Regions from separate parts of the Homo sapiens genome. Here regions 2, 3, 4, 5, 6 and 7 are each linked to region 1. Evidence: promoter capture Hi-C in 16 types of primary human blood cells and fetal thymus (Javierre and others, 2016). All regions are on one chromosome and are shown on one strand. The core of a region is centred on a gene start or on the middle of the fragment in contact, and the rest is flanking DNA. Distances in the headings are between cores, read along the strand shown.

Region 1 (4,241 bases), core at 1,123-3,622:
GGGGTGGGAAGAGGTGTTACTAGTAAGCATGTTCTGGGTGGTCCTCTGGGTGCACAAGAGCAGTAGCTGTACATGCTTGTTCATATATCGCATGTCTCATTAGCATCTTAAATCTCCACCCAGCAGTGGGTTTTTTACTATTATAATGAACAAAGGGTCAGGCTGAGGATAGGTAAAATCAAAATGTATATGCTATATACAGGGAAATTTCCTACTGAAGATAGCTTTGCTTGAATTAGCTTGACTACAATGTGAATGCTGGGGCTTATTTTGTTAAAGTATGTGGTGCAGTAAGCCACAGTTGCTGCATACCAAGGGCATGTTTACTTCCTTGACTACCTATTCTGCCTCATAATGAGTATAATGAGGACAGTTGGTTGTTTCTAATGTCACTGGATAAAGTGGTGCAAAAGTGAGTGTAGGGATTTTTATTCCCAGCTCAAGTGCTCCATAAATAATCTGAAAGCTTCTATGTGCACCCTGAAGAAAACCCTATCTCCTGTAGCCCCAGAGCTGAGACTGTTGAAAATCAAACACAGCATCTCATCCTGTGACTGGCTGAATTACAACACAAATTAGAATTCCAGCCTTGCAGAGTGACTATTGTCAAAAGGAGGGCACTTACTGAAAAAAAAATGGGATTCTGTAAATTAGGATTGGGACATATGGGAAGACCTTGATGAAGCTGGGGACATTAAGCCCCTAAATTCTGATGAGTCTTCTTTGCTAGTGGAGAGGCTTCTCAACCCCATTGGAAGCAGCTTCTCCATTTCCAGTGATAGTACCCTCCAACCTGTCTGTGATGATTAACACTGCATTGCCTGAGGAAATTGTAATGGCCTCCTTTGAGGCAGTTGATATGCAAGACAATGTTGGTTCTCCTCCAGACCCAACTCCACCACCCTTCTTTGCTTCTAGACCTGAAACTAGACAGGAACAAAGTGTTACCTATGAAGAGATGTGCTATACTCCAAAGAGTTACTCAAAGTCTCTAATTTATACAGACAAAAATCTGGGAACATATGTCGGAATGGATAATAAAGGTGTTGGAAAATGATGGAAGGAACATAAAGTTGGATCAGGTCAAATTTATTGACATGGGCTCACTAAGCCAAGATTCTGCATTTAACATTGCAGCTTGGGGAGTTAGAAAGGGTGCTCACAGTTTGATTGGCTTACTAAAACATGGAAAAGATGAATTGGAAGTGCTGGACATGCCTTGGTTTAATCTAGAGGATGGGATTAAAAGGTTTAGGAATATTGGGAAATTAGATTTTTCACTTAAGAACTACTCATCTCGGGTGGATCATGAGGTCAGGAGATCGAGACCATCCTGGCTAACAAGGTGAAACCCCGTCTCTACTAAAAATACAAAAAATTAGCCGGGCGCGGTGGCGGGCGCCTGTAGTCCCAGCTACTCGGGAGGCTGAGGCAGGAGAATGGCGTGAACCCGGGAAGCGGAGCTTGCAGTGAGCAGAGATTGCGCCACTGCAGTCCGCAGTCCGGCCTGGGCGACAGAGCGAGACTCCGTCTCAAAAAAAAAAAAAAAAAAAGAACTACTCATCCACACTGGGAAGGTCAAGAAAGCATACCTTTCACCAATACTATGAGAAAGAAATTTGCGAGGAGAGCTCCAGCATCTTTTTCAGAACTCTGTGATGGCTCTTCTCTGTAGGCCAGAGCTCACTGCAGTCACTGAACTGGAAAACCTAAATATAATGGAAGTAAAGGATCCCAGGGTGGCAAGGGTCAAGTAATGGGACTCAACCACCAAAGGCAAGGTGAAGTGGTTATCATAATGACAGAGCCAAAGGAACAATTAGAATAATCTCACTTGTAGACCTATGCTTTGGCTAGTTGATCATGGTTTTCCTAGACGTGAAATAGATAGGAAGCCTACTGAAGTCTTAACTTGATCTGTATAAGCAGAAAACTTCTAAGTCAAGTGACGAAAGTTGAACTCGAATCATAAAAACAGAATCGTGGTCCCTTAATTCCCAAACTTGAGCCACTTTATAGAGCCCAAAACCCTTTGATTGAAGGGGAGGACCTCAAAGGGACCCTGGTCCATAACCAAATGTTTATACTGTTAGTCTTTCTCCTAGTCCTCCGCAAAGGGATGTACAACCTTTACCAACGTAACTGTGCATTAGAAAAAGGGAATAATCAGATCTTTTGTGAACTAGTGGACACTGGCTCTCTGAAGTGACACTAATTTCAGGAGATCCAAAGTGCTACTGTCAGGGTAGCAGCTTATGGAGGTCAGGTGATCAGCAGAGTTTTAGCTTAGTTCCATCTCACAATGGGCCCAGTGAATTCCTGAACCTATCCTGTGGTTATCCCCTAGTTCTAGAATGTATAATTAGAATACAGTCAGCAGCTGACAGAATAATCCACACATTGGTTTCCTTACCTATGGAGTGAGGGCTATTATGGTGGAAAAGGCCAAGTAGAAGCCACTAGAACTATCTGTACTTAGGAAAATAGTAAACCAAAAGCAATGCTCAATTCCTATAGGGACTGAAGAGATTAGTGCCACCATAAGTACTTGAAGGAAGGCGGGGTGGTGATTCCTACCATATGTCCATTCAACTCGCCTATTTAGCCTGGGCAGAAGACAGATGGATTATCACAAACTTAACTAGGTGGTGACTCCAATTGCAGCTACAGTACCAGATGTATTGCTTGAGCAAATTAACACAACTCCTGGTTCCTGGTATGCAGCTACCTGGTATGATCTGGCAAATGCCTTTCTCTCCATCCCTGTCTATAAGGCCGACCAGAAGCAGTTTGCTTTTAGCTAGCAAGGCTAGAAATGCACCTTCATGTCCTACCTCAGGGCATATCAACTCACCAGCCCTGTCCTAATTTTGTTCACAGGAATCTTGATTGCCTTTTCTTTCCACATCACATTGGTCCATTACATTGACGACATTATGCTCACTGGACCTAATGAGTGAGACATAGCAACTACTCCAGACCTATTGGTAAGACATTTGCATGTCAGAAGTGGGAAGTAAATCCAACAAAAATTCAAAGGCTTTTTCATGTCTCAGTAAAATTTCTAGGGGTCCAGTGGTATGAGGCATGTTGAGATACCCCTTCTAAGGTAAGTTTTTGCATCTGCCCCCTCCTACAACCAGAAGAGGCATGACATGCGGCAGGCCTCTTTGGATTTTGAAGACGTTTCCTCATTTGAGTTTGTTACTCTGGCCCATTTACTGAGTGACTTGAAAAGCTGCTAGTTTGGAGTAGGACTCAGAATAGGAAAGGTTCTGCAATAGGTCCAGGCTATTGTGTAAGCGGCTTTGTTGCTTGGGACATATGAACTTGCAGATCCAGTGGTATTTGAAGTGTCAGTGGCAGATAGAGATGCTGTTGGAACCTTTGGCAGGCCCACATAGATGAATCTCAGTGCAGACCCTTAGTATTTTGAAGAAAGACCTGTTATCCTATGCAGATAACTACTCTTTTGAGAAACAGCTCTGGGCCTACTGCTGGGCTTCAGTAGGGACTGAATGCTTACCGTGGTCAATTAAGTTACCATGCGACCTGAGCTGCCCATCATGAGCTGGGTGTTATCTGACCCACAAGCCATAATGCTGGGTGTGGACAGCAGGAGTACATCATCAAAGAACGTGTTATGTATGTGACTGGGCCCAGGCAGGACCTGAAGGCAAAAGCAAGTTACATGAAGAAGTGACCCAAATGCCCATGGTCCCTGTTCCTGCTACCTTGCCTTTTTTCTCCCAAGCTCATGGAGAGTTCCCTATGATGAGTTGACAGGAAGAAACAACATGGGCCTAGTTTATAGATGGTTCTGTGTGATATGTAGGCATCACCTGAAAGTGGATAGCCATAGTACACCAGCCCTTCTCTGGGACATCCCTGAAGGATAGTGGTAAAGAGAAATCCTCCCAGTGGGCAGAACTTTGGGCAGTGCACCTGGTTGTTCATCTTGTTACCCCATGTTGGCTAAAAGTAGAGGTCCTGAAGCATTTTATTATTTATTTATATATTTTTTAGAGATGAGGTATCACTATGTTGCTCAGGCTGGTCTTGAATTCCACCTGCCTCAGCCTCCCAAAGTGTTGGGATTATAGGCGTGAGCCACTGGGCCCAGCCCATTAAACCATTTTATTTTATTAGACAATTTTTCTAATTTCTACGTTTCTTCTGAACTTAATTTAAAAAACTGTATTTTAAAATTCAACCATGTATTAAGATCTAATAAAATAATA
Region 2 (4,241 bases), core at 527-3,026, 3.4 Mb after region 1:
GTCCTGAACTATTAGGATCTCGTCTATCAGACTAGATCCCATGGCAAAGAGAAGAGTACAGAACTACTCGTGCTTAGACCAGAATGTTTAGAGACAGGGATCCGAGTGCTTGCCACTGGGTTCAGTTGATAAATATTAATTTCTCTGCCAAGTAGCATATCACCATAACCCAATTGATTTGTTATACATAATTTCTCTTTGGAGATACTGACTGTGCATCAGGCAGTTTACCCTGAGCATAACCAGGAATGCTGTGTTTTCATCTCCTTAAGATCACTCGGGCATGGATTCGATGGAATGGCTCCTTTGGGACTTTCTCCTCTGTTCAGATGAAACAAATTGCATACAACTAAATCCTAATACCACATTTCCTCCTGTGAGGCAGGAAACTAAGGCATGCAGCTAACTCTAGCTTTTCTCCGAGCAAAAGGCAAATCAAGAGAGCCCAGCATAGAAAGGATAAAATTCATGCCCAGTTGAAATTCTTATACAGGCAGACTTTATTTTGTTGTGCTGTGCTTTTTGTGCTTTACAGATATTGTGTTTTTTACAAATTGAAGATGTGTGGTAATCCTGCATTGAGCAAGTTTGTCAGCACAATTTTTCCAATAGCACGTGCTCATTTCATGTCTCTTTCATATTTTGGTAATTCTCATAATATTTCAAACCTTTTCACTATTCTTATACCTGTTATGGTGATCTGTAATCAATGATCTGTGAGGTTACTATTTAATTATTTTGGGGTGCCATGAACTGCACCCGCATAAGACAGCTAACTGAAATGGTAAGTGCGGTGCATGTTCTGACTGCTCCTCTGACCAGCCATTCCCTTGTATCTCTCCCTCTCCTCAGGCTTCCCTCTTCCCTAAGCCACAACAATATTGAAATTAGGTCAATTAATAATCCTGTAATGACCTTTAAGTGTTCAAGTAAAGGGAAGAGCCAGACTTTAACAAAATTAAAAGTGCTACTTCAATGAACACATGAATAAGAAAGCAAAACAGCCTTATTGCTTATATGGAGAAAGTTCTAGGTGTCTGGATAGAAGATCAAACCAGCCACAACATTCCCTTAAGCCAAAGCCTTGGATTACCACAGCAAGGCCCTAACTTTCTTCAATCCTACCAAGGTTGAGTGAGGAAACTGCTTTAAGGAAAGAAGCCATCTCCATAACATAAACGTGCAAAGTGAAGCAGCAAAGGCTGACATAGAAGCTGCAAAAAGTTATTCAGAAGATCTAGCTAAGATCACTGATGAAGGTGGCTACACTAAGCATGTTTTTAGTGTAGATGAAAACAGCACTATATTGAAAGAAGATGCCGTATAGGACTTTCAAAGCAACAGGAAAGAATAATTCAATGCCTGGCTTCAAAGGATAGGCTGACTCTCTTGTTAGGCGATAATACAGCTGGTGACTTTAAGTTGAGGCCAGTGCTCATTTACCATTCCAAAAATCTTAGGGCCCTTAAGAATGATGCTAAATCTACTCTGCCTGTGCTCTAGAAATGGAACAACATAGCCTGGATGACAGCACATCTATTTATAGAATAATTTACTGAGCATTTTAAGCCTATTGTTGAGACCTACTGTTCAGAAAAGAAGATTCCTTTCAAAAAATTGCTGCTCACTGACAATGTGCCTGGTCACTGAGGAGCTCTGAGATGAACAAGGAGATTAAAGTTGTTTTCAAACCTCCTAACACAACATCCATTTTACAGCCCACAGATCAAGGAGTAATTTTGACTTTATAGTCTTATTATTTAAGAAATACACTTCATTGGCCAGGCGCGGTGGCTCACGCCTGTAATCCCAGCACTTTGGGAGGCTGAGGTGGGTGGATCACGAGGTCAGGAGATCAAGACCATCCTGGCTACCACGGTGAAACCCTGTCTCTACTAAAAAATACAAAAAATTAGCCGGGCTTGGTGGTGGGCACCTGTAGTCCCAGCTACTCAGGAGGCTGAGGCAGGAGAATGGCGTGAACCCAGGAGGCGGAGCTTGCACTGAGCCGAGATCGCACCACTGCACTCCAGCCTGGGCGACACAGCGAGACTCCGTCTCAAAAAAAAAAAAAAAAAAAGAAATACACTTCATATGGCTATGGCTGCTGAGATGGTCAAAATACCAACATTAACAGGAGTTTAAAAGAAGTTGATTTCAACCCTCATGGATGACTTTGAGGGGGTGAAGACTTCAGTGGAGGAAGTTGCTGCAGATGTGGTGACAATAACAAGGTAACTAGAATTCGAGTGGCGCTTGAAGATGTGACTAAATTGCTACAATTTCATGATACAACTCGAATGAGGAGTTGCTTGCTGTGGATGAGCAAAAAAAGTGGTTTCTTGAGATGGAATCTCCTCCTGGTGAAGATGTTGTGAACATTGTTGAAGTGACAACAAAGGATTTAGAATATTACATAAACTGGCCGGGCACAGTGGCTCACGCCTATAATCCCAGCACTTTGGGAGGCTGAGGCAGGCCAATCACCTGAGTTCAGGAGTTCGAGACCAGCCTGGCCAACATGGTGAAAACCCATCTCTACAAAAATAGAAAAATTAGCTGGGTGTGGTGGCATACACCTGTAATCCCAGCTACTTGGGAGGCTGAGGCAGAAGAATTGTTTGAACCCAGGAGGCGGGGTTGCAGTGAGCCAAGATTGTGCCACTGCACTCCAGCCTGGCGACAGAATGAGGCTCTGTGTCACACACACACACACACGCACAAACCCCCAAATATTACATAACCTTAGCTGATAAAGCAGCAGCAGGGTTTGAGAGGACTGAGTCCAATACTGGAAGAACTATTGTGGGTAAAATGCTATCAAACAGCACTGCATGCTACTGAGAAATCTTTCATGAAAGGAAAAATCAACTGATGTGGCAAACTTCCTTGCTATCTTATTTAAAGATACTGCCACAGACACCCCAATGTTTAGCAACTACCAACCTGATCAGTCAGCAACCATCCACGTGGAGGCAAGGCCCTCCAGCAGCAAAATGATTACAACTCCCTAAAGGCTGGGCTCATCGTCAGCATTTTTTAATAATGTATTTTAAAATTAAGGTATGTACATTTTTTTTTTTTAGACACAGTGCTGTTGCATACTTAGTAGACTACAGTATTATATAAACATAACTTCTGTATGCACTGGGAAACAAAAAATTCTTGTGACTCGCTTTATTGTGCTGGTCTGGAACTGAACCTGCAACATCTCTGAGGTACGCCTGTATTTGACCTTGGGTAAATTCGAGGGCTGAAAGAAGCCTTACCAAGAACTTTCAAAGAAGTGGGAACTATTCTCCTAAGAGAAGCCTCAGGATAGCAATTAGGAAATGAAGACAAAAGCAAAGCACTGAAAAGCTACTGATATTCTCTACTGAGGGAACAACCAACCACAACAAGGAATTGGTTTCTTGTGCCATGTGGCCAGAGTGCAAAATCCTGCAAGTGTACAGTCTGTAATGACAGATATCAGGCAGAATAGTATGAAGAGAAATGTGGAAAAAAAAAAAGACTGGGTTTCTGTACCTACATGTATGGCTTCAGCAGCTTTAAGAGGGGTGGTAACAAGTCAATCTTTCTTGTAAGCCTCAGTGAGGAAGCTGATTCTAGGACCTTCTACTACTTGCAAAGCAGAAAAGCACACAATGTCCAGGTATAGCCAGAAGAATATGCTGAACTTGGCAATGACATGTTAATTCTATCTCCATATATAGCTCTTTAATATGGCACTCATACAAGATGATATATATATATATTTTGCTTTTGAGACAGGGTTTCACTCTGTTGCCCAGACTGGCATGAAGTGGTGCCATCACAGCTCACTGCAGCTTTGATCTCCTGGGCTCAAGCAATCCTCCCACCTTAGCCTCCCAAGTGGCTGAGACTACAGGCACATGCCACATGCCGGGCTAATTTTTTATTTTTTTGTAGAGACAGGGTCTTGCTATGCTGCCTAGGCTGGTCTTGAACTCTTCAACTGCAGTCTTGACCTCCCAGGCTCAAGTGATCTTCTTACATAGGCCTCCCAATGTGCCAGGATTATAGGCATGACCACCATGCCAAGCTCCAGATGGTATTCTTAATTCAGCTCACAATGTGCCCTCATCAGATTGCTAGTGGCCAGGAGTGAACAACTGAGTGACTTTAAGAATCAGGACACCAGGAATATGTTCCTAGAAAGTGAAGGTATGAGTGGAAAACCTGGGTTGGATTATGAACAAGGCCCACATGTGTGCCAG
Region 3 (4,241 bases), core at 1,063-3,562, 3.1 Mb after region 1:
CCATTTCTTTTTAATATCGATTTTGTTGATGATAGTTATTTAATGAAAAATGATCTTGCTGAATTACGAGCTAGTGGCCAAATCCTAATGGAATTTGAGACAATGAAGCTTGAGGATTTCTGGTGTGCCCAATTCACAGCATTTCCAAACCTGGCAAAGACAGCTCTAGAAATCCTTATGCCATTTGCAACTACATACCTTTGTGAGTTGGGATTTTCATCACTTTTACATTTCAAAACAAAGTCCAGAAGCTGCTTTAATCTGAGTGATGATATCCGTGTGGCTATTTCAAAAAAAGTTCCTCGTTTCTCGGACATCATTGAACAAAAGCTACAGCTACAGCAGAAGTCACTGTAAGCTGATATACTTTTTTAATGAATAATTTCAATCTTAATATCATTGTAAAATTAAGCTGTAATTCTGTCTCTTTCATATTTATGATATACTGAATTCTATGTCTAAAAAACTTAAGAACTTTAATTTTGAATGAGGCATGTGAAAATATGTTTTGAGAATAAAAACACAGCAGAAAAGATTAAGTACTACTGCCTAGTTGCTATCATGAGATTTTCCCAATTCTAAGTATCTGTTTAACCTGTTCGTGTGGTATATGAAAAAGATACCTAAGCACTAGAATATCCAGCTAAATGGTGCAATAGGCTAGGAATTGAGCCAGGAGAAAAGAGAAGATATCCCAGAAGTCAAAAAGGCAAAATGAAAGATTGAGTTCGCCCGTCTTTGTTATGGAGAGGTTAATGAAATCAGAAGAGGATTATGAAATATAATGGGAAAAGGAATGATCTGGCTTATGTAAGACTTACTTTTAAATATACTCTTTGGAGTTAGTCTCACAATGTCCATTCCCCTAGCTCCTGTGCTATGAATATCATATTAATAAATAGCCTAATATATTAATCACTGTTTGTCATCTTTAAATTACTTCAGAACTCCAAGTTATCAAGGCTGCTGAAAAGGAGATTCCTGAGCCTTACCCTAGAGATTGTGATTAGTAGGCCTGTGATAAGGTCAAGGATCCTCATTCATAACCAGCTTTCCAGACTGTTCTGATGGATTCTTGGATTCTTGGGTCCTCTGGGTTCAATTTTTCCTATACTTATTTTTCCTTTACCCTAATTTTGTCACTTATATTACATCTTATATGTATTTTTCTAAGTTCAAAATGTCAGAGTATAAATCATAAATAAATTGACATGAAATCAATGGAGTAATTCAAGACCATCAAAAAATTCCCCATGGGAATCTAACTTAGCACACTTTTTCTGGATGATAATTTGGCAAAATATTTTTTAATTTAAATAAATTTTCATTTCTATTTTTAAACATTAATATTTTATCAAAGTACTACATGCTCAAGGCTGGGAAAAAATGATATAGAGAGTCCTATAAGGAAAAGCCACAATCCCCTTCCTGCCCAATTACCCATTTCTTCTGTAATTTCTTGTGGTTCCACCCACATCTCTTAAGTAGTATGTTCATACCATGACATATAGCAGTTGAATCAGCTTTAAAAGTTATATATTGACTCCCCTAGATAATATGTAAGGATTGAATTTATAAAATATCCATCTCCTACTACTCTCAATTTTTTATTATTATTACACTAATGTTAGTCTCTTTGTTGGTTATTTATAGCCCTTTGATTAAGAATTTTTCCTCTATAAATTTATCATGTGGAAAGAATCAGGAATGTCCAAAAGTTTTACTTATAAGGTGGCTAATCAGAACACTTTTATAATACTGAAAAATAAAAAATAAACCTGAAGGGAAATGGAACCTGACTACCAAATTTAGATGCCACATTAGTACGCAAATCAAAGTTTATATTTTATCAGTAAGTATAAATACACACCTTTTTTCACTGAAAAATGTAGTAACAGAATATAGGTCCTAATTTTCCTATTACAATCTAACATCAAAGACAGAAAAATTTCCAAAGCTAATATGGAAATCTAGATGTGTAGGCCAGGTGCGGTGGCTCATGCCTGTAATCCCAGCACTTTGGGAGGCCAAGGTGGGCGGATCACTAGGTCAGGAGTTCGAAATCAGCCTGGCTAAAATGGTGAAACCCCACCTCTACTAAAAATACAAAAATTAGCCAGGCATGGTGACATGCGCCTATAATCCCAGCTACTCAGGAGGCTGAGACGGAAGAATTGCTTGAACCCAGGAGACACAGGTTGCAGTGAGCTGAGATTGTGCCACTGCACCCCAGCCTAGGTGACAGAGTGAGACTCCATCTCAAAAAAAAAAAAAAAATCTAGATGTGTGTATATAAAGTTTAATCTGTATGCAATTCTAAAGTTAGGAAGGAGGTAGGAATAGGGACATGGGCATGTATGAAACCTAGGATTTAATAGTATGATAGAAGGACCAGGATTAAATGACCTTTGATAGCCAGTCTTTCATTAGGTCTTAGACTAAATTAGTTATTGCTGCTCTGAAACAAAAACTCAAAGGACATTTTTAAGGAAATGGCTAACTAGGATTTTTATTCATTTTCAAATTCTACAACAATTTTATTTTCTCCTGATCAAATGAAAGAGCTGCAGTGTTTGCTAAAATGAAGGAATTTCAATTTTTTTTAGTTTAAAAATGTCCCACAGTGGTACATATATTGGAATTTTTAGTCATGTGTTGGTTTCTTTTTTCCCAAAGAAGAGATAATTACTTTTCTTATGTTTTATTTTAGAGTCATTGATAAATTTTGAAAAGGAGTAAAATAGAATAAAAACATAATCTTCATGACCAGCAGATGTCACTCTCTGTATAGGTTTGAATGAGAAAGCAACTTTACTCACATTACAGATTTTGCCAAATAGCTGATTTTAAACATCTCTAGAAAAGGTACTAGTGGCTCAAATTTAAAATTCCTTACCTGAGCCTCTGTGGACTGAAAACTGGCAGGCAGAACTCTGTTGGAGCCGGTAACCATGAGACTGCAAGAAATCACTGGGAAACCCAGGTGGGAAAGAAAATATCAATGACTTTTTCTGTAATACAAGCGTGTGCATTTTTGACATCCTCACTGTTTGTCTAAGCCACCAAAAACTGCTGAAAGTTAGTAAATAATAGGTCAGCATTTTCAGGCATGAGCCAATGGGAAGCAAAACCAAATAGACTTACACTTTTTTTTTTTTTTTTTTTTTTTTTGAAGCAGAGTCTTGCTCTGTCGCCCAGGCCGGAGTTCAGTGGCGCCGTCTTGGCTCGCTGCAAGCTCCGCCTCCTGGGTTCATGCCATTCTCCTGCCTCAGCCTCCTGAGTAGCTGGGACTACAGGCACCCGCCACCACGCCCAGCTAATTTTTTTGTATTTTTAGTAGAGAGGGGGTTTCACCATGTTAGCCAGGATGGTCTCGATCTGACCTCGTGATCCACCCGCCTCGACCTCCCAAAGTGCTGGGGTTACAGGCATGTGCCCCCGCACCCGGCTAACTTATACTTTTAAAGAGTGAACTTGATGATACTTGAATTATATCTCAATTTTTTTTTTTTTTTTTTTTTTGAGACGGAGTTTCATTCTGTCACCCAGGCTGGAGTGCAGTGGTGTGATCGTGATCTCGGCTCACTGCAACCTCCACTCCCGGGTTCAAGAGATTCTCCTGTCTCAGCCTCCCAAGTAGCTGGGATTACAGATGCCCACCACTGCGTCCAGCTAATTTTTGTATTTTTAGTAGAGATAGGGTTTCACCATATTGGCCAGGCTGGTCTCAAACTCCTAACCTCAAGTGATCCACCTGCCTTGGCCTCCCAAAGTGCTGGGATTACAAGCATGAGCCACTGCGCCCAGCCTCAATTTTTAAAAATAGACTCTGCGGCCGGGTGCAGTCGCTCACACCTGTAATCCCAGCACTTTGGGAAGCTGAGGCAGGAGGGCTGTTGAGGCCAGGAGTTCAAGACTAGCGTGAGCAACATATCAAGACCCCGTCTCTACAAAAAATAAAATTAGCTGGGCATGGTAGCACATGCCTGTAGTCCCAGCTACTCAAGAGACTGAGACAGGAAGTTTCCTTGAGCCCAAAAGGTTGAGGCTGAAGTAGGCCATGATGGTGCCACTGCACTCCAGCCTGGGTGACAGAGTGAGACCTTGTCTGAAAAAAAAAAAAAGGCTGGGCACAGTGGCTCACAGCTGTAATCCTGGCACTTTGGGAGGCCATGGCAGGAGGATCACTTGAGCCCAGGAGCTCAAGACCAGCCTGGCCAACAAAGTGACACCCTTTCTTT
Region 4 (4,241 bases), core at 309-2,808, 3.1 Mb after region 1:
TATGATGGGAAGAGGGATCGGTGGAATGGCTACAATCCAGAAGAACACATGAAAATTGTTGAAGAGTATGCCAAAGTTGATTTGGTGAGCAAAATTCCCTGCTTTCCTGGGGTTTTTAAAGAATCGTCCTTTTGCTGTATCTCTAGCAGCTCTACTTTTCAAATCTTGAAGCACTTTAAAAATGGTAGCATTTTTATAATAGTAGTACTACTGTATAGGCTACCTTTATAATTGTAATATTGAGTAAAGGAAATAGTGTGCTAGCCATACTTGCCAGCAGTTTCTTCTTATTTGATTCTTATATTGGTCCTTTACTCCCTGACTTAGGTAGCAAAAGATATTGGAAGCATGAAGACAGATTAGTGTCCAAAGCTTTTGGTTTTGTGAGGTTAGAAATGTATGGCCCCAAGCTATAGCTTGCCCATGAACCTATTTTATAGTTGCCTCCCATAGCATTTGGGAGTAGTAGAAAGGGAATGGATAATTTGTTTCAGAAAATTTTATTTTATTTTAACCCAACTTCAGTTTTTACTGTTATGATTTGACCTATTCACCCTTATTCCTTTGAAGTCATAGTCACACTGCCTTTTTTTTTTAATTAGAGGTATCATTTTAAAATTATAAGATTTCATATAAAAATCTGGATTTCATCTTTTCTTGAATATTGTAATATATGGTAACCCCACGCCTGCCTGGTAAGAGTCAGTCATCTAGAGTTCTGTGGCAACTGCTTGTTTTTGTCAGGGCTTGCTCCCTGCAATTTACTACTGATGCCATTTGGCTCAGTTTACATTAATGCCTGGTTCAAACACTGTGTAACTCCTGCTCTTTATAGAGTAATAGGTCTAGGGCTACAAGGAATCCCAAAGAGATAGGTTTGTTCAGTGACCTTTTCTGAAATAAATTAATTTAAAGTTATTCATTTTAAATATATAAAAATTTAGGTGGTGACTTGAATGTTGTAAGTAAAATTTAAATGTTTACTTTTTCTTTCTTTCTTTCTTTTTTTTTTTTTTAAAGGCAAAACGAACATTGAAAGCCCAGAAACTCCAAGAGGAATTAGCCTCAGGAAAATTAGTGGAACAGGCTGTAAGTAATGAAAATGATCAATAAAAAGGTTTTATTTCTTTTAAACAAAGAAATGAAAATTGAAACAAGAATTCATTTTATAGCTCTTCAGTTAGGAAGAGAGAAATGCTATTGGGGGAAAAATAAAACTGATACTTTGTATACAGTTCATAGTAATATAAATTGATGCAGTCAGTTTGGGAACAATATTGCCACTATTTATATTTAGACACACACAAACATTTACTTTTTCAAGTTAAATTATTAAAGCTATCCATCCTAAAGAATTTTCTAGAGTTTAGAAAAATCATGATGCATAAAGATAGTACAGCATTTTTCACAATAGTAAAGAAATTGGAATAGCTTAAATGTCCAGGAACAGGGAATTGGTTAAGTGCATCTGCATGGTGTAATGCTGTGTAGTTCTTAAAATGGCATTTCTCAAGACTTCATTAACAACACTGGTTAACACTTGTATTTGAATAATACATGAAAAGATAGTATAATATTATCACACAGAAAAAAAGACCAGAACACTAGTTTTTATTTAATGTAGAATTTATGAATTTTTCTTTCTATTTCTTTAGTATTTTCTGCATTTCCCACAATGAATATGTATTAGTTATATAACTGGGCAAAACATTTTTTATATGAATGAAAGGTCTATTGCAGCCAGTTTTTTTTTCTTTTTTAAAAATCCTTGTCAATAGAGTAAATATATTATGCATATTAGAGTTGTCAAGTTTCTTTTTAACAAATCTAGGCACAAATAAATAGTAAACATTTATAGTTTTTTAGTTTAAATTTCTAAAAGGGACTCTAAACCATGTATAAGTAACAAAGCAAACAGAACTTGAAATAATTACCAAGTAAGCAGTTACCGAGTTACTAAGGTAACCTACCAGGCAAGTTAACATTGTAAGTTACCAGATAGGTGTTTAAAATCCATCTCTGGCCGAGCACAATGGCTCACACCTGTAATCCCAGCACTTTGGGAGGCCGAGGCAGGTGGATCATCTGAGGTCAGGAGTTCGAGACTAGCCTGGCTAACATGGTGAAACCTCATCTTTACTAAAAATACAAAAATTAGCTGGGTGTGGTGGCGAGCACCTGTAGTCCCAGCTACTCGGGAGAATCGCTTGAACCCAGGAGGCAGAGGTTGCAGTGAGCCGAGATCACGTCACTGTGCTCTAGCTTGGATGACAGAGCGAGACTCTATCTCAATCAATCAGTCAATCAGTCAATCAATAACAAAATCCATCTCTGCTCCATGAGACATACATGCTCTTAGAAAAGTGAATTTGCCGGCCGGGCGCGGTGGCTGACGCCTATAATCCGAGCACTTTGGGAGGCCAAGGCGGGTGGATCCCAAGGTCAGGAGATCGAGACCATCCTGGCTAACACGGTGAAACCCCGTCTCTACTAAAAAATACAAAAAATTAGCCAGTCGCGGTGGCGGGCGCCTGTAGTCCCAGCTACTCGGGAGGCTGAGGCAGGAGAATGGGTGAACCCAGGAGGCAGAGCTTGCAGTGAGCCAAGATCATGCCGCTGCACTCCAGCCTGGGCGACAGAGTGAGACTCCGTCTCAAAAAAAAAAAAAAGTGAATTTGCCTCTCTGAGCTGCAGTTTAGTATGTCTGAAATAGAAATGATAACACCTACCCCCAGGAAGCTTATATACATATCACATAGTAAACACTGGGTAATTAGTAGCTATTATTGTTGTGATTATTTTTATTTATTACTAACTTTGGGAAAAGAAAAAGGGCCTGTTTCTTTTGTTCTAATGTATTCTCTGTTGTTTGTTGTAAACGTAATGTAATTTATTTCCCCAGTAAGGATACTTAATGTATGTAAGGGGCTAATGATTTTTGCCCACTTGGATGCTTGGATTATTTTTTTTTTATATACTTTAAGTTTTAGGGTACATGTGCACAACGTGCAGGTTTGTTACGTATGTATACATGTGCCATGTTGGTGTGCTGCACCCATGAACTCGTCATTTAGCATTAGGTATATCTCCTAATGCTATCTCTCCCCGCTCCCAGGATGCTTGGATATTAAGATGAACCACATACAGTAGATTTAGAGACTTAGCTGTCACTATAGAAATGTATGTAAATGTCTTTGGTGAACTAGCAAATAGTGGGAACTCAAAAAAATTATTTTTTACAAAATATTTATATTTCTAATTTTGAAAGTAACACATATTAAGTGGAAAAAAATTAGAACATAATATAAAAAAGAAAATATCCCTGTGTTAATTGTGAACATTTTGAAGTAGGCCTTTCCAGGTCTCTCTTGTCCACATATACCTGTTCATGTGTGCTAGAATACAAAATGTTTCTTACATGAATCCATCTTTATATATTCATTTATTACCTTCTTTTTTAATTTAACAACATAGAGTACAGTGGGAACGTGTTTTCTGTCTATATTTATAGACCTATAGCATCATTTATTTTTGTATGAATTCACATGGCTCAAAAATTAAAACAATTTAAGAAGATGCACAGCGAAGTCTCTCCACCCCTGTTTCTATCCACCCTAACACTAAACTTCCCCTCGCCCCAACTCTTTTGTGTATGTGTGTGGCTCCTTTCAGACTGTCTTGAATAAATACAAATACAAATATATACCCTTATCCTATCTGTCTCTCCCCTCCCCTTTTTTTAATCAAAAAAGTTAGGAAACGATACATACTTTTCTGCCCCTTGGATAGAATCACTTTTAATGGCCGTTCAGTGTTCCATGGAGTGCAATACATTATATAACCAGTGATCTATTAATTTGATTTTTTCCCAGTGTTTTGAAAAAACATTGCACATATACAACACTGCACATCACATTCTTATACATCTTTATATAATTGACATGATACTAGGATAACCTTCTAGAAGTGTATTTCAGTGAGTTTGTATTTCTAAAATTTTTATGACATATCACTTAGCCATCATTCAGAAAAGCCATGCAGATTTATGCTTCCATCTATATAGTATATATACATACACGTGTTTCTGCATCTCCTCACTAATGCTATAATGTATTCTCTTTTTTTTTAAGTATTTTTAATCTTTGAAGCCTTTATGAAGGGACATGATGAAATACCACGTTAGTGTAGGCATTCTGTGGAGTTAGAAAGTATTCTGACCAATTGCTAGCGAAGAAAAGTGT
Region 5 (4,241 bases), core at 567-3,066, 3.1 Mb after region 1:
GGAAATTACACCCCCAAGGAGCCACCACAAGGCCGTGTGAGCCACACTGAGCAACTCAGACTTCATCCTGGTGGCAGAGGGACATCATTCCAAAGTAAATGAAGTGGGGAATGAGTGCTTGATGAGCATGGGTTTATTTTTGGGGGTGATGAAAGTGTTCTGAAATTAGACAGTGGTGATAGTTGCATATACTCTGAACTAAAAGCCACTGAATTGTACATTTTTAAATGAATTTTCTTATGTGAATGTTACCTCAAAAAAAAAAAAAAGGCCGGGCATGGTGGCTCACGCCTGTAATCCAAGCACTTTGGGAGGCCAAGGCCGGCAGATCACGAGGTCAGGAGATCGAGACCATCCTGGCGAACACGGTGAAACCCTGTCTCTACTAAAAATACAAAAAAAAAAAAAATTAGCTGGGCGTGGTGGTGGGCGCCTGTAGTCCCAGCTACTCGGGAGGCTGAGGCAGGAGAATGGCATGAACCCGGGAGGTGGAGTTTGCAGTGAGCCAAGATTGCACCACTGCACTCCAGCCTGGGCGACAGAGCAAGACTCCGTCTCAAAAAAGAAAAAAAATGAAAGGAATATCTAGAAGGAACTTTCAATTCCAATCAAGATGGAGTAACAGGGACCAGATTTACTCTCCTGCCTGAAACTAAAAAACAAGACAAAATATATGAAATGAGGGCTGCCCAAAGAGTGAACATCAGGCGACAGAGAACAGCGATGCCTGAGGAATGTGAAATAAGTGAGGTGAGGCCGATGACTATCCTTACTGGCTACTTTTGAGTTTCCAGGCCTCAGAGTGGGGAAGAAAGGGAGGCAGGCAGAGCCCAGTGAATTTCCTGAGTTGAAGAGACAGAGCAGAGTCAGGCCAAGGCAGGCCAAGTTTGCAGAGCAGAGCACTGGAGAGGAGAGAGCTGCACAGAGAGAACCCTGGAAATTTGCAGAGGGTCTCCCTGTAGTATTCAGAAGAGCACTGATCCATATAGCTGAAAAGATCAGAGGGAAGAATTCCTGAAGCCCACACAGGGCTGGGAATAGTGTCTGCTCCCACCAGCTAGACAGGAAAACCTCATAATTCAGGGGGCAGCAGAGTCCTAAGCATCTCACACTTCAGTAGTAGGGGGAAATGAGCCCTGGGCTAAATGCTGCTCTGGTGATGCCTAACATTAAAGGCAAGTCTCAAATGAATCAAATTGCTTCTAGGTACCTTACCCATACTCTAGAACAAAGTTTAAGAATATTAATAGAAATGTAAAAATACCCAGCATGAAAAAAGGTAAAATCCATGGCTGGCATGGAAAGTAGAAAAATACAACTTGTAATAAGAAAGAAGAAATGGTAGCAAGATAATGGCATTCCTGACTGTTAGCTCCTACTATAAGAAGGTACAGTATCCTGAGAGGCAGGCTCAGAGGTAGTGTAGAGAAATGCAGAAGGTTTACAGAGTTGTAAAGGTATGAATAAAGTCTGTCTTATTTCAAAAAGTGTCAGAACAAAATAGCAACAACCCCCACAAGATGCAAATTATCTGTATTAATGGAGGAGCATCTGCTTAAAGTTCTCAGTCTCAGCACACATTATGCACATTGCAATCTGATTAACAGCAGATGAAAAGATCAGATCCCTCTATACTCAGTTCTGACCCAGAGGACGGCAATTAACTGGTAAGGGACTGACTAGTCCCCTTGCTCCCAGCCCTTGGTTCCCTCTACCACAAAAGACAATTTTCCAAAGCTTCAGTTTGTGTTGCAGAGTATGAAAGCCATTCAGAACTACACTTTGCTTTTTTTGTTGTTTTTGTGAGACAGCATCTCACTCTACCACCCAGGCTACTCTACCACCCACTTTACCACCCAGTGGCATGACTATAGCCACTCAAGTTGTAAGCTTGAACTCCTGGGCTCAAGCAATCCTCCTGCCTCAACCTCCTGAAACTAGGACTACAGGCATGCGCCACCACACCCGGCTAATTATTTTTAATTTTTGAGAGACAAGGGTCTCACTACATGGCCCAGGTTGAACCCAAGCTCCTGGGATCAAGCAGTCCTCCCACCTCAAACTCTCAAGTGCTGGGATTACTGGTGTGAGCCACTGTGTCCAACCTATACTTTGGTTTTCTTAGCAGCCCTATTTTACCTGAGGATGCTAAACCTATTACTCTCCCCTAAAGCCAAGTGCCCTAGTAGTCTTATGGTATTATCTTCTCCTAGAAGTCTGCCTTTCCACTAATTCCAGAAAGTCACACTGATTCAGTTGTATTTAGAAGGTAAAAAGTTTTAAAGTCAGGATAAGCGGTTGTAGGTGTTCTTAGTATTTCATGCCTAATATCCTTCAGCTTCCTCCAATGACAATGGCAAAGTGTTCACATTCTAACTTGACCATAGAAGCTACTGATATATCAAGGGAAAGACTTCTTATATAACTTAGCATCAAGCAAGGGTCAAATTCAGGTTACTACATGGCCCAAGCGAGTAAAGTGAGTTAAGTAGGCTAGGTCTCAGAAGAGACATGAAAGGTAAAAGGATCACTTCAGTTCTCACTGAGGCCATTTAAGGCAGGGTCTGTGGGATAGAAAGCCTATACTCCACCTAAAAGGCAGCAGCCTGCAATCTACCTCCAGCCCCAGCAAGTGTTGGAAACAGGGTCTACTATGGACACATCTCTTTTCAAGAGAATCTCCAAAGCCAGATTGGTGAAACACTGGAATTTTAAATAGTGGAAATGATTAAGGTTTTTAAAATATCCACCCCCTCCCTCAAAAAGAAAACCTATGAGCAACCATTTGCCATCTCTATTTTGATTCCAACCTCAGAACTGAGATCAAAATACCAGCTCTAATAATTTTCTAGCTCTTCACATCTTTGACAAATCAATGAACTTCTGCGCTTCATTGTCTTACCTGGGAAAGTGTCAAACATTAAACATAATAATGCTTCTCAAATACTCATGTCCAACACAAGGTAAACAACTAAATACAGTTTCCTATAGGTGGAGTGTAGACCTTACTATCAGTAAATTATCTCCAGTGATCTTTAAGGAATCTAATTGAAGATCCCAAGGAGGCTGAATTCTCAGATTTAGAGCCTTTCAATACTGAGTATTAAAGTCATTAGAAACTAAGTAGAACCGGCAATAAAGAATGCCCAGCAATAGATACTTAATGAGTTGGAAGTAGCTCTTCTAATTAAGAGATCTAATAACTGTCACTAGTTAATGGCCACAAAAAGTCAATAAAGTACACATTGAGGGGTATACTTTTCAGGAAAAAACAGTGGCAGCTTCTAAAATAAGCTGTTAAACCAAAAAGATTTAAGTTTTTAGACATCAGACAAATCTCTATTGTCACATTATAGACTCTTTGTTAAACACCTCAGCTAGCTTTCATGTTATTTTAAGTAACCTCCATGGAAAAGCAACCACAATACTAGGAAGAATCTGTTAAAGAATGCTTTATTAATACAAATACACACAAACTCTGAAGCACTAAGAAATTTAAATATCTATGTCACAGCAAACAGGTGGCAATTCAACATCCAGGGTCGACAGAATGCTTGAAGGAGACTGCAACAGATCTAGAAAACAGGAATCTCTTATTAAAATTTCTGCAAATCCTTGAGTCATTGTCCATATCAACATAGACATTAGCTGTCAATCAAAAATTCATGTTTTTCCCTTTGTCAAATCAATCACCTGCATCCCCTCCTGACACATTTTTTGGAATGTGTCTGTGGCCCCAGAATTGACTTTCATTAGGAAGTAAGTTTTAGAAGTATCTGAATCTCTATTGTTCTTAGAGACCAAAGTAAGAGTTAACAGTCTCACTAATGTAACTTATTAGGACAAATTATCCCACATCAGAACAAACAGAAAACATAATGTTGGCTTTGACTACCAGTTCAAACGAAGACCTCAGACCTTCTGCAGTAAGAAGTTATTGTCAGTCTATGCTACAGCACAGGTGTTTTGATCTTATATTAGCTTTGGATATAACATGGAATCATCATTCCAAGCAAGTTTATTATATATGCTTCAACTTATAGCCTAAGAAGATGTAAGTGAGAATTAATCTTTTGGCTGTAGTAAGACTATCCAGTTTCCAGAATAACAATTTTACTGGGGCATTTGGGACTGAAAAGCAATATTAATCGAGAATAGTTTATTTTTCTGAAAACTAATCCTTGTCATTTGAAGGACAGAAATTACTCACAGGCTCACCTCCCGCACAACTCTTCCCATGG
Region 6 (4,241 bases), core at 793-3,292, 3.0 Mb after region 1:
GTAGAATTTCTATTTAAATAAACAAAAGGGCCACATTTATGTACCATATTGTTATCAATATTAATAATAGAAGATAATGAAAGATGATACTCTGTCAATACCAATTAGAAAGTATGCATTTATTTAAAACACCGATGGAGCATTTATTATGTGCAAAATGACATGCTACATACACTAGCCATGCCAGAGACCTGGCCCCTTCCTTTAGGAGGGCACAGAAGTTACCATCTCCAACTCTGGAGGGAAGCAGAGTAGATTTAAGGTGTACCAAGGATCCACCACTTCCTTACAGGGTGACTGTGGGAAAATCAGATCACCTGTTTTTTTTGTTGTTGTTGTTGTTTGTTTTGTTTTTTCCTTTTTTTTTTTTTTTTTTTTTGAGACAGTTTCGCTCTTGTTGTCCAGGCTGAAGTGCAATGGCACGATCTCGGCTCAACCTCTTCCTCCAGGGTTCAAGCAATTCTCCTGCCTCAGCCTCCCAAGTAGCTGGGATTACAGGCGTCTGATACTACGCCCGGCTAATTTTGTATTTTCAGTAGAAACGGGGTCTCTCCCTATTGGTCAGGCTGGTCTCGAACTGCTGACTTCGATCCACCTGCCTCGGCCTTCCAAAGTGCTGCTCATGAGCCACCATGCCCAGCACCTCTGTTTCTTTATCCTCAGAATAAGGGTATTCAAAGAGCCCCCTCTTCCCACCCCCATAGAGCTATTATGAAGAATAAAAGAGATAAAGCAGGTGAAATGCTCATCCCTGGTTCTTAGTAAATGGGAACAAGTATGACAAGTGTGAGCCAACGTTATGACAGGTATTGTCCTCTATTTGAACTCTACTTGCTTTCTCAAAATCAGGAACCTCTTCGTTTTTGATAACTCACCATTCCTCCCTATCTAAACATGCTATCTGAACACAGGAACAAATTAGATTCGGAGAATTAAAATGCTTAGAAGAGGAGTCTGAGCTAAGCCTTGAAAGATAAGTAAAACTTCAATAGGCAGGGGGAGCAGGGGGGCGGAAAGAAGGGAAAACAGGACTTCCTTGCTAAGGAAGCAACATGAATTAAGAGAATGCAGCAGTAAATATGTCAAAGGAATGGCCAAGAACCCGGAATGGGTACCTCCATCATGGGAGACCAGTGGGGTAATCTTGGTAAAGTTTTAAATCCTGTGATGAGGAGCTTTTAGAACAAAGTAGATGCTGAAGGTTGAGGAACAATGGAATTTCTTGACCCAACAAGGAAGTGAGGAGGGCAACAAAAGTGAGAATGGAAATGAGAAAGAACCTAAGTTACCCTAAGATGTGGACTATCTAGGGTTTGGTGACCAGTTGGATGTTTAGCTAGAGAAGGTAAGGAATAAGTTAAAGACCAACTCCAGACTTCCAGTTAATGCAATAAATCTGAGTTTTCCCTGACAGGTGGAGGTGGAAATGGGGGTACAAGTGGGTTTGTGTCATGTTACCAAACACAGTTTACTCTTTTATTTTTAATTTGCAACCTGTCAGAAGCCCTGAGCCTGCTTCTCTTTCATTCATGCAATAAATATTTATTGAGCACCTATTGTGTATCAACTGCTGTGTTATAAGCCAGAAATACAGCAGTGAAGAAAACACAGTCCTTGATCTCACAGACCATAAAATCGACTTGGGAGTCCAGGCAGGTGAATGGACAATCACAGTCATGCTCAGACAGGAGAATTCATGGGATACTGGGATTTCAAGTAGGAGCACCTACCCCAAGTTTGGGTTTCCTTGGAAACATAGGAAGTTATTTCAAAGCTGAGCACAGAAACGGAAGTAGGATTTAAGAAGGCAAAGACCGGAAAGAATGTTTTTTCAAGCAGAGAAAACAGCAAGTATGATGGCCCTTGAGAGGTGGAGGAGCTACAGAGGTAGAATTTGGCTGGATGGAGGATGGGAGATGAGGAGTGGGCTGAAGTGGGACCAGATCACCACATAAGGTGTTTGAATTTCATGCCAAGGAGTCACTCTCCGGATATTTCTCAGTGCCAATGTGAGGTAGCAGCCACCCTTGCCCTTACAGCTCCAGTGTGCACACTTAGAAGGATGGCCTCTAGGCACATGTGCCTGGAAGCCTCCCCCGAAAGCCTGTGCAGAAGCACGAGGCAAGCCAATGAAGCAGAGCCAAGTTTTGATTTGAAAACGATGACTTTGCTTTTGTATCAGATTTCTAAATCGAGGTTTTTTATTTCAGCCCCACCAATGTCATGTGCACTGAGTTCCTTCTTTCACCCCCTCTTAAAAAAAGAAAAAAAAAGAAACCCTTGTGCAAATATCCATATGAAAGTAGATATACGTGTATGACAAAGTGGGTCATTCTTAAGTACAGAACCTTATCTGTAGACTTTTCCCATCCTTCCATTTGCCAATCATAATAGCTCCCAAGTTTCAGTTCTTAAAACCCTTGTCTCACCCTTAGGACACAGTAAGAGCCAGTTTAATTTTGATGTTGGTTCTGATGCTTGTAAATGTTATGTAACTTGTCCAAGGTCATCTAGCAATTTCTAGGTTTATAAGGGCAAAATAGCTTGGTTTGCTGTTTCACTACTTACTTATCCCACTCTCTTCCTCTCCATTTATTTTCTCTTTCCTTTCCTACTCTCAGTTGCAAATAATAAAGACTTGTGGGCTTGCCTTAAGCAATGGAGATGGGGGAGAATGTGCTATGGAAGTAATAAGGCGTATATATAGGGGAACCCAAGACCCTCAGTGGGGCATCAGTAGGAACAGAAACATCCCAGAGGTCAGTCTTGGAGATGCTGGCCCTCAATCCAAGGAGGCCCCAAGGAAAAGTAGCAGGAGGTCCTTGCCCTTGAGTGTCTGCCTTGAGTCTCTGTGATTCAGCTGTTTTCAGGGAGTTTCAGTCTCCCTCCTCTCTAGATAGGGCCCTGGGCTATCTAAAGGACATTATCAGGGTAACTGGTGATATCAGACTGAAGATTAGACAATAGTATTGTTAAATTTCCTGAATTTGATCACCATATTTTGATTGTGTAAGAGAATAGCCTTAGCCTTATCCTCAGGAAATATATACTAGAGGATTTAGGAATAAAAGGGCTTGATATGTGCAAACTACTTTCAGATAGTTTACAAAAATGTATATGGTGTGTGTGTGTGTGTGTGTGTGTGTGTGTGTGTGTAATGAGACAGAGAGAAGCAAATGTGGCAAAATGTTTACAGTTGGTGAATCTGGTTTAAAAGTATTCAGAAGTTCTTATTCTTGCATCTCTCTCTCTCTCTCTCTCTCTCTCTCCCCCCACCCCTTCGCCCGCCCCCACATATATATACAAGAGAGTGTCTCACTATGTTGCCCAGGCTTGGGTGCAGTAGCCTGATCCTAGCTCACTGCAGCTTCAAATTCCTGGGCAAGCAATCCTCCCACCTCACATTCCCAAGTAGCTGGGACTACAGGCATGCAGCACCACGCTAATCTTTTCTATTTTTTTGTAGAGATGGGATCTTGCTCTGTTGCCCAGGCTGGTCTTGAACTCCTGGCCTCAAGTGATCCTCCTGCCTCAGACTCCCAAAGTGCTAAGATTACAGGCATGAGCCAGTGTGCTCAGCCTTGAAAATAAGTTAACAAATGAGATTATAGGAAACAACATTAATTTTTTTTTAAAGGCCAAAAATGTAGTCTTGGACCAGATGCATAAGAATGACTCAGGGACTGGTTGAAAACACTGTACCAGTGCCTGAGCCCCATGCCAGAACAATGGAATCTGCATCTCTGGGGCTGAGTTCTAGGAACTGGCTTGTTAAATACGCATCTCGAGTGACTTCTATGTGCACTAAAAAGCACAACTTTCACCTATTGTGTCAAGACCACTCCAGATTTCTCACAACTTCAGCCCTCTGAGGTATCTCTTAAATAAAAATTATCAGTAAAGAGAGGCTCCAATAGCCCAGCCTATCTTAGATGCCAGGCCCCTTCTCAGGCTGCTACAAATCCATTTGTTGGCTGCCGTGGGGGTCAAGTGGCAGGTCCAACATCATTGGCTCAGAACCAGGGTCCCTTGGTCCTCTTGGATATGCCTCTTCTGGCTGGACTAGATTCACCAAAAGAGTGATAAGAAGAAACACTCTGCCACCGATTCATCTAATTTAATAATTTAATAAAGATTTCCATAGCAAAGTCTTTTTCAGCAAACACCAGGTGTTTTCTTCCATAATAAGAATATTGACCCCTGAAAATTGGAGGTAATGGGGAAAGTTTTGCATAATTCAG
Region 7 (4,241 bases), core at 717-3,216, 3.0 Mb after region 1:
TTAGGTGGTTTTGCTCTGTTGCCCAGGCTGGTCTCAAATTCCTGGATTCAAGCAATCCACCCACCTCGGCCTCCCAAAGTGCTGGTATTACAGGCGTGAGACACCACAACCAGCCAACAAGGCACTTTCACACAAATCTCACTTCACTCTCAAAAGCCATAAAGAAATGCCATTGCCATCCTCACTCGATTAAAAAAGATGAGGAGAAGCAAAAAGAAGAGAAGGAGGAGGAAGAGCAGTAGCTAAGCAGTTAAAACATCCACCTAGCACATACAACTAACACTTTTGACCATTCGGCCCCACTGTCTGGCTCTTGGAGACATAAACAAAAATGGTTTCTTCCCTAAAGGAATTCAAAGACTAGATAAGGTGGCAAGGTATACAGATGAAAAATAAGTAACTGCAGAATGCTAGATAAACATGTACTCAGCCTGGCCTTCACAAGAGAGGCCAGCAGCTGGTAGAAAGGAGAACTTTCATTCGATCCCTCTGTAGGTCCTGCAAGCTCTGCCTTCACAGTACACGTAGAATCTAACTGTTTACCCTCACCCAAGCCACCATCAGCTCCCACCTAGGAGATCTGCAACAGTGAGGTCTCCTGATTCCACTCCTGCCTCTGCAGTCCACCCTCCAAATAGCAGTCAGAGGGATCTTATTAAAAGATAACTCAGAAGTAGGAGTTGAACAATGAGAACACATGGACACAGGGAGGGGAACATCACATACTGGGGCCTGTCAGAGGGTGGGGGGAAGGGGAGGGAGAGCATTAGGACAAATACCTCATGCATGTGGGGCTTAAAACCTAGACGACAGATTACTGGGTGCAGCAAACCACCATGGCACATGCATACCTATGTAACAAACCTGCACCATCTGTACGTGTATCCCAGAACTTAAAGTATTTAAAAAAAAAAAAAAGAGGCCAGGCACAGTGGCTCACGCCTGTAATCCCAGCACTCTGGGAAACCCAGTCAGGCAGATCATCTGAAGTCAGGAGTTCAAGACCAGCCTGGCCAACATGGTGAAACCCTGTCTCTACAAAAATACAAAAATTAGCTGGGCATGATGGAGGGTGCCTATAATCCCAGCTACTCGGGAGGCTGAGGCAGGAAGAATTGCTTGATCCTGGGAGGCGGAGGTTGCAGTGAGCCGAGATCATGCCATTGCACTCCAGCCTGGGAGACAGAGCAAGACTCTGTCTCAAAAAAAAAAAAGGAGAGATAAATCAAATCATGTCACTCCCCTGCATAAAGCTCTCCAGCAACTTTACATCACACAGAGAACAAAACCCAAACCCCTCAGCATGGCCTACAAGGCCCATGTCATCTGGCCCCTGCCTCTACCTCCAATCGCATTTTCTACCATCCTTCCCTCATCCATCCACTCCTGCCCACCTGGCCTCCTTGCTGTTCTTAATTGCACCAAGCTGTTACCTTTTCCTGGAATGCTCTTTCCCAAAATATTTCTACTGTTCACCTGTCACTTCTTCCAGACTCTTCTCAAACCTCACCTCATCAGAGTCCATCCCTCACCCACTCTACCTAAAGGAAACACAGACATGCCCCACCCATCCCCCAAACGTTCCAGCCCCTTGCCTGCTTTTCTGCCTCATACAATTTATTATTAGTTTACAGTTACTTATTTGTTTACTGTCTTTCTGCCTGGTAAGAGTGAAAGCTTCATGGGAGTAGGCCCTTTAACCAGAAGAATGCCTGGCACAGAGTAGGTCAGTTTCTCAATCTTTTTTTCATTATCATCCTTCTAAGGAACCTTTTCAGACTTTTTTTTTTCTAATCCCCCCACTATGAAATGTTAACACTACAGATATATTATATGTCTATATATACTGTATGTATATTTGTGCTTTACACATAGAGTTTTTTTTCACCTCCTAAGGGCCAATTTTCGTGCTCTTTGAGGGGAGGCATATCTTCCCCATGGAATAGGTGCTTGATAAAAATGTGTTGAATGGATAAAACTCCTGAGGAGAGCAGCAAGCTCTGAAAGATGGACATTGTTCAAGGTATAAAGTTCAGCTGGGGAAATTCCAAGCCTCCCCCCACTCAACCCTCCCATCTTTGTAGCATGAGTACATCCTGTCATGCTGTGTCTGGTGACTATCCGGTATTTTTCTAATGCAGATTTTCAGCTTTAAAACAAAACAAAACCCTACTCTTGTTTTGCATCCTGGCTCCCACTGCTATTTTGGATCCTTGAATTCACTTTTTCTCCACCTTCCTCCCCAGGCAAGCTTTAAAACCCAGATAAGGCCCGCTCCATTCGTACACAGTTTATTCTTTCCTTCATCCTACAACCTGCACTGAGTTCCTATGTGAACCAGATGAAAAGATGATGATGATTCAATCCCTGCCCTCTGGAAGCTCATGAGGATGTGAGGGTAGACAAACAGGATGCTAAGTTCAACACACCAAGGGCTCCAGGAGGAGCAACAAAGTGCTTCGAAAGGACAACTGCACTGACCCAGTGGAACCTCTCCTTGCTCATCCATTCACCCATCACTGACTTACAGAGCACCTGCTGCATGTGTCGGGCCTGTGCTAGATCCTGGGGTTGCAGCACAGACAAGACCAGCATGGTCCATGGAGATCACAAAACAGGAGAGACTGAAATCTCACTGATAATCACACAGATAAGTGAGCCCAAATGTGATAAATGCGACCAGTGGAAAAGCTCAAGATTCTATGAAGCACCTGGTAGTTGGAAAGAAATGACATTTAAGGAGAAACCCTGAAGAATAAGTAGAGCATGGTCTGGCAAAGACCAGGTAAAAGGGAGTTCCAGGCACAGGGAACAGAATGTCCAAATGGTCACAAATAGGATGTGACCAGGCACACTTGTGAGGACGGAGAGAGACTCCTCTACTGAGGTCAATAACGAGACTAGGGATGGCATGAGGAGAGGAAGGTCCAGAAAGGCAAGAGCCGATTCATGTTGGCCTTGCTGAGAAATATGGAGTTGACCTTAACTAAAGACAGAGGAAACACAGAAGGAATGTGATCCAGGCTGTATTTTTTAGATATTTTGGTTGGGTGTGGAAAACAGCTGGGAGGAGGGTAAAAAATCATCCCACACATCTGTCATCCAATCACGCAATTTAACATGTGATCCTGCAGGGTCTTGCACCCATAGGTGCAAGTCCTGTGAGACTGTGAAATTCTCAAAGGTAGATATCACATTTTCCGCCTCTTTTTACCCCGTCCCACAACAGCAGTGCATGGTACATGGTAGACAATTAGAAAACACTTCTTGAGTAATTATTTTATAATAACAAATTCTATGTTTTTATTATGATTAACCACTCCTTCTCTCTGCCCTCTGAAAGTTCCCCTCCCGTCCTCAGTCATCTTCCCATCCTCTGCCTGACTGACATATTCTGTTTCGGAAGACCACAGTATCTTTCAGATGACCTCCCACAAGCTCCCAGTCACTGCATTGCATGGAAAGCTGGACATCAGGGTGGTGACGATCTGAATAGTAAGCCATTGGTCCCCTTGCTGCCCCCAGCCCCCACCTGTCCCTGGTCACCCAGACCCTCAAACCTCCAGTTCTTCGGAATCTATATCTCCAGTGAGGCACTAGTTTGTTCCTGTGCCGCCAAAGCAGCCAGGCCAAAATAAACTTAAACTGCACAGTCGGAGCCATTCCCCAGCCAGAATGGGGAACAGAACAGAGCAACACAGCAAAGTAATTGCCTCCTATTTACCAGGACGTACTTTGCACTATGAGCCATTTTGTCAACTTCATGAGATTTGCAGTCAGAAAACACGGAAACAAAAGAGCAATATGAAGGTCTTTTAACCACTGACCATTTACATTTGTCAGCATGACTGCTCCATCCATTATTATCATTTCCCCAGCGCACAGCCCAGGAAAACTGTAGTTGCATTAGATCAATAAAAAACTGAATTCTCTTTTAAGACAGAGTCCTATTGTGTAACTATGTTGGGCAAATGTATAACTTGTCCTATGAAAAGAAATCCCATACCTCATTTGGTCATAGTGCATTGTGACAGAGAAACTATTTGCTTCCATTTTTAAGAATCCACCCCCTTTCCTTTTATGTATTTTTCCCACCATATGAGAGAAATTTATAAAGGAACCCAAAAGTTGTTATAAATATACTTTGCCAGCTCTCACCCCAAAAAATACTACTGTGGCACTTTGCTCTTGCTATACAGAGTTAGAATAAAGGAATGGGTTTTCAATATGCGTGGCTTTTA

The links. Contacts are between HindIII fragments. The CHiCAGO score rates a contact against its expected background, and 5 or more counts as called.
Region 2: a contact is called between a fragment that was not itself captured here and the fragment with the promoter of HMMR-AS1 in region 1, in 1 of 17 cell types (total CD4 T cells). The highest score is 5.5, in total CD4 T cells.
Region 3: a contact is called between a fragment that was not itself captured here and the fragment with the promoter of HMMR-AS1 in region 1, in 2 of 17 cell types (naive CD8 T cells and non-activated CD4 T cells). The highest score is 8.4, in naive CD8 T cells.
Region 4: a fragment that was not itself captured here is called in contact with the fragment with the promoter of HMMR-AS1 in region 1 in 1 of 17 cell types (total CD4 T cells); the score reaches 5.8 in total CD4 T cells.
Region 5: a fragment that was not itself captured here is called in contact with the fragment with the promoter of HMMR-AS1 in region 1 in 10 of 17 cell types (naive CD8 T cells, non-activated CD4 T cells, total CD8 T cells and 7 more); the score reaches 25.3 in naive CD8 T cells.
Region 6: a contact is called between a fragment that was not itself captured here and the fragment with the promoter of HMMR-AS1 in region 1, in 2 of 17 cell types (activated CD4 T cells and naive CD8 T cells). The highest score is 9.6, in activated CD4 T cells.
Region 7: a fragment that was not itself captured here is called in contact with the fragment with the promoter of HMMR-AS1 in region 1 in 8 of 17 cell types (non-activated CD4 T cells, M0 macrophages, activated CD4 T cells and 5 more); the score reaches 11.5 in non-activated CD4 T cells.

The regions. Positions count from the first base shown.
Region 1 is chr5:163,492,189-163,496,429 of GRCh38, reverse strand. HMMR-AS1 (HMMR antisense RNA 1) reads left to right here and starts at 2,372. Exons shown (of 4, transcript NR_109892.1): 1 at 2,372-2,731; 2 at 2,881-2,987. The HindIII fragment of the contact is 5,178 bases long and covers 469-4,241 here.
Region 2 is chr5:160,056,249-160,060,489 of GRCh38, reverse strand. All of the region lies in intron 7 of TTC1 (tetratricopeptide repeat domain 1), which reads right to left. It also overlaps a transcript of PWWP2A not described here. Among named protein-coding and RNA genes, the nearest start is that of TTC1, 49 kb to the right of the region's middle. The HindIII fragment of the contact is 5,431 bases long and covers 1-4,241 here.
Region 3 is chr5:160,389,822-160,394,062 of GRCh38, reverse strand. It overlaps FAM200C (family with sequence similarity 200 member C), which reads left to right. Exons shown (of 2, transcript NM_022090.5): 2 at 1-915. The coding sequence ends at 357. Among named protein-coding and RNA genes, the nearest start is that of FAM200C, 8.1 kb to the left of the region's middle. The HindIII fragment of the contact is 4,404 bases long and covers 111-4,241 here.
Region 4 is chr5:160,409,299-160,413,539 of GRCh38, reverse strand. It overlaps SLU7 (spliceosome associated SLU7), which reads left to right. Exons shown (of 16, transcript NM_006425.5): 5 at 1-84; 6 at 1,021-1,089. Among named protein-coding and RNA genes, the nearest start is that of SLU7, 7.7 kb to the left of the region's middle. The HindIII fragment of the contact is 2,367 bases long and covers 375-2,741 here.
Region 5 is chr5:160,427,936-160,432,176 of GRCh38, reverse strand. It overlaps PTTG1 (PTTG1 regulator of sister chromatid separation, securin), which reads right to left. Exons shown (of 6, transcript NM_004219.4): 6 at 3,438-3,575. The coding sequence ends at 3,496. Among named protein-coding and RNA genes, the nearest start is that of PTTG1, 8.2 kb to the right of the region's middle. The HindIII fragment of the contact is 153 bases long and covers 1,740-1,892 here.
Region 6 is chr5:160,450,925-160,455,165 of GRCh38, reverse strand. No RefSeq gene overlaps it. Among named protein-coding and RNA genes, the nearest start is that of MIR3142HG, 15 kb to the left of the region's middle. The HindIII fragment of the contact is 7,393 bases long and covers 1-4,241 here.
Region 7 is chr5:160,475,616-160,479,856 of GRCh38, reverse strand. All of the region lies in intron 1 of MIR3142HG (MIR3142 host gene), which reads right to left. Among named protein-coding and RNA genes, the nearest start is that of MIR3142, 3.3 kb to the right of the region's middle. RefSeq lists enhancers at 1,941-2,235, 1,820-2,368. The HindIII fragment of the contact is 574 bases long and covers 1,680-2,253 here.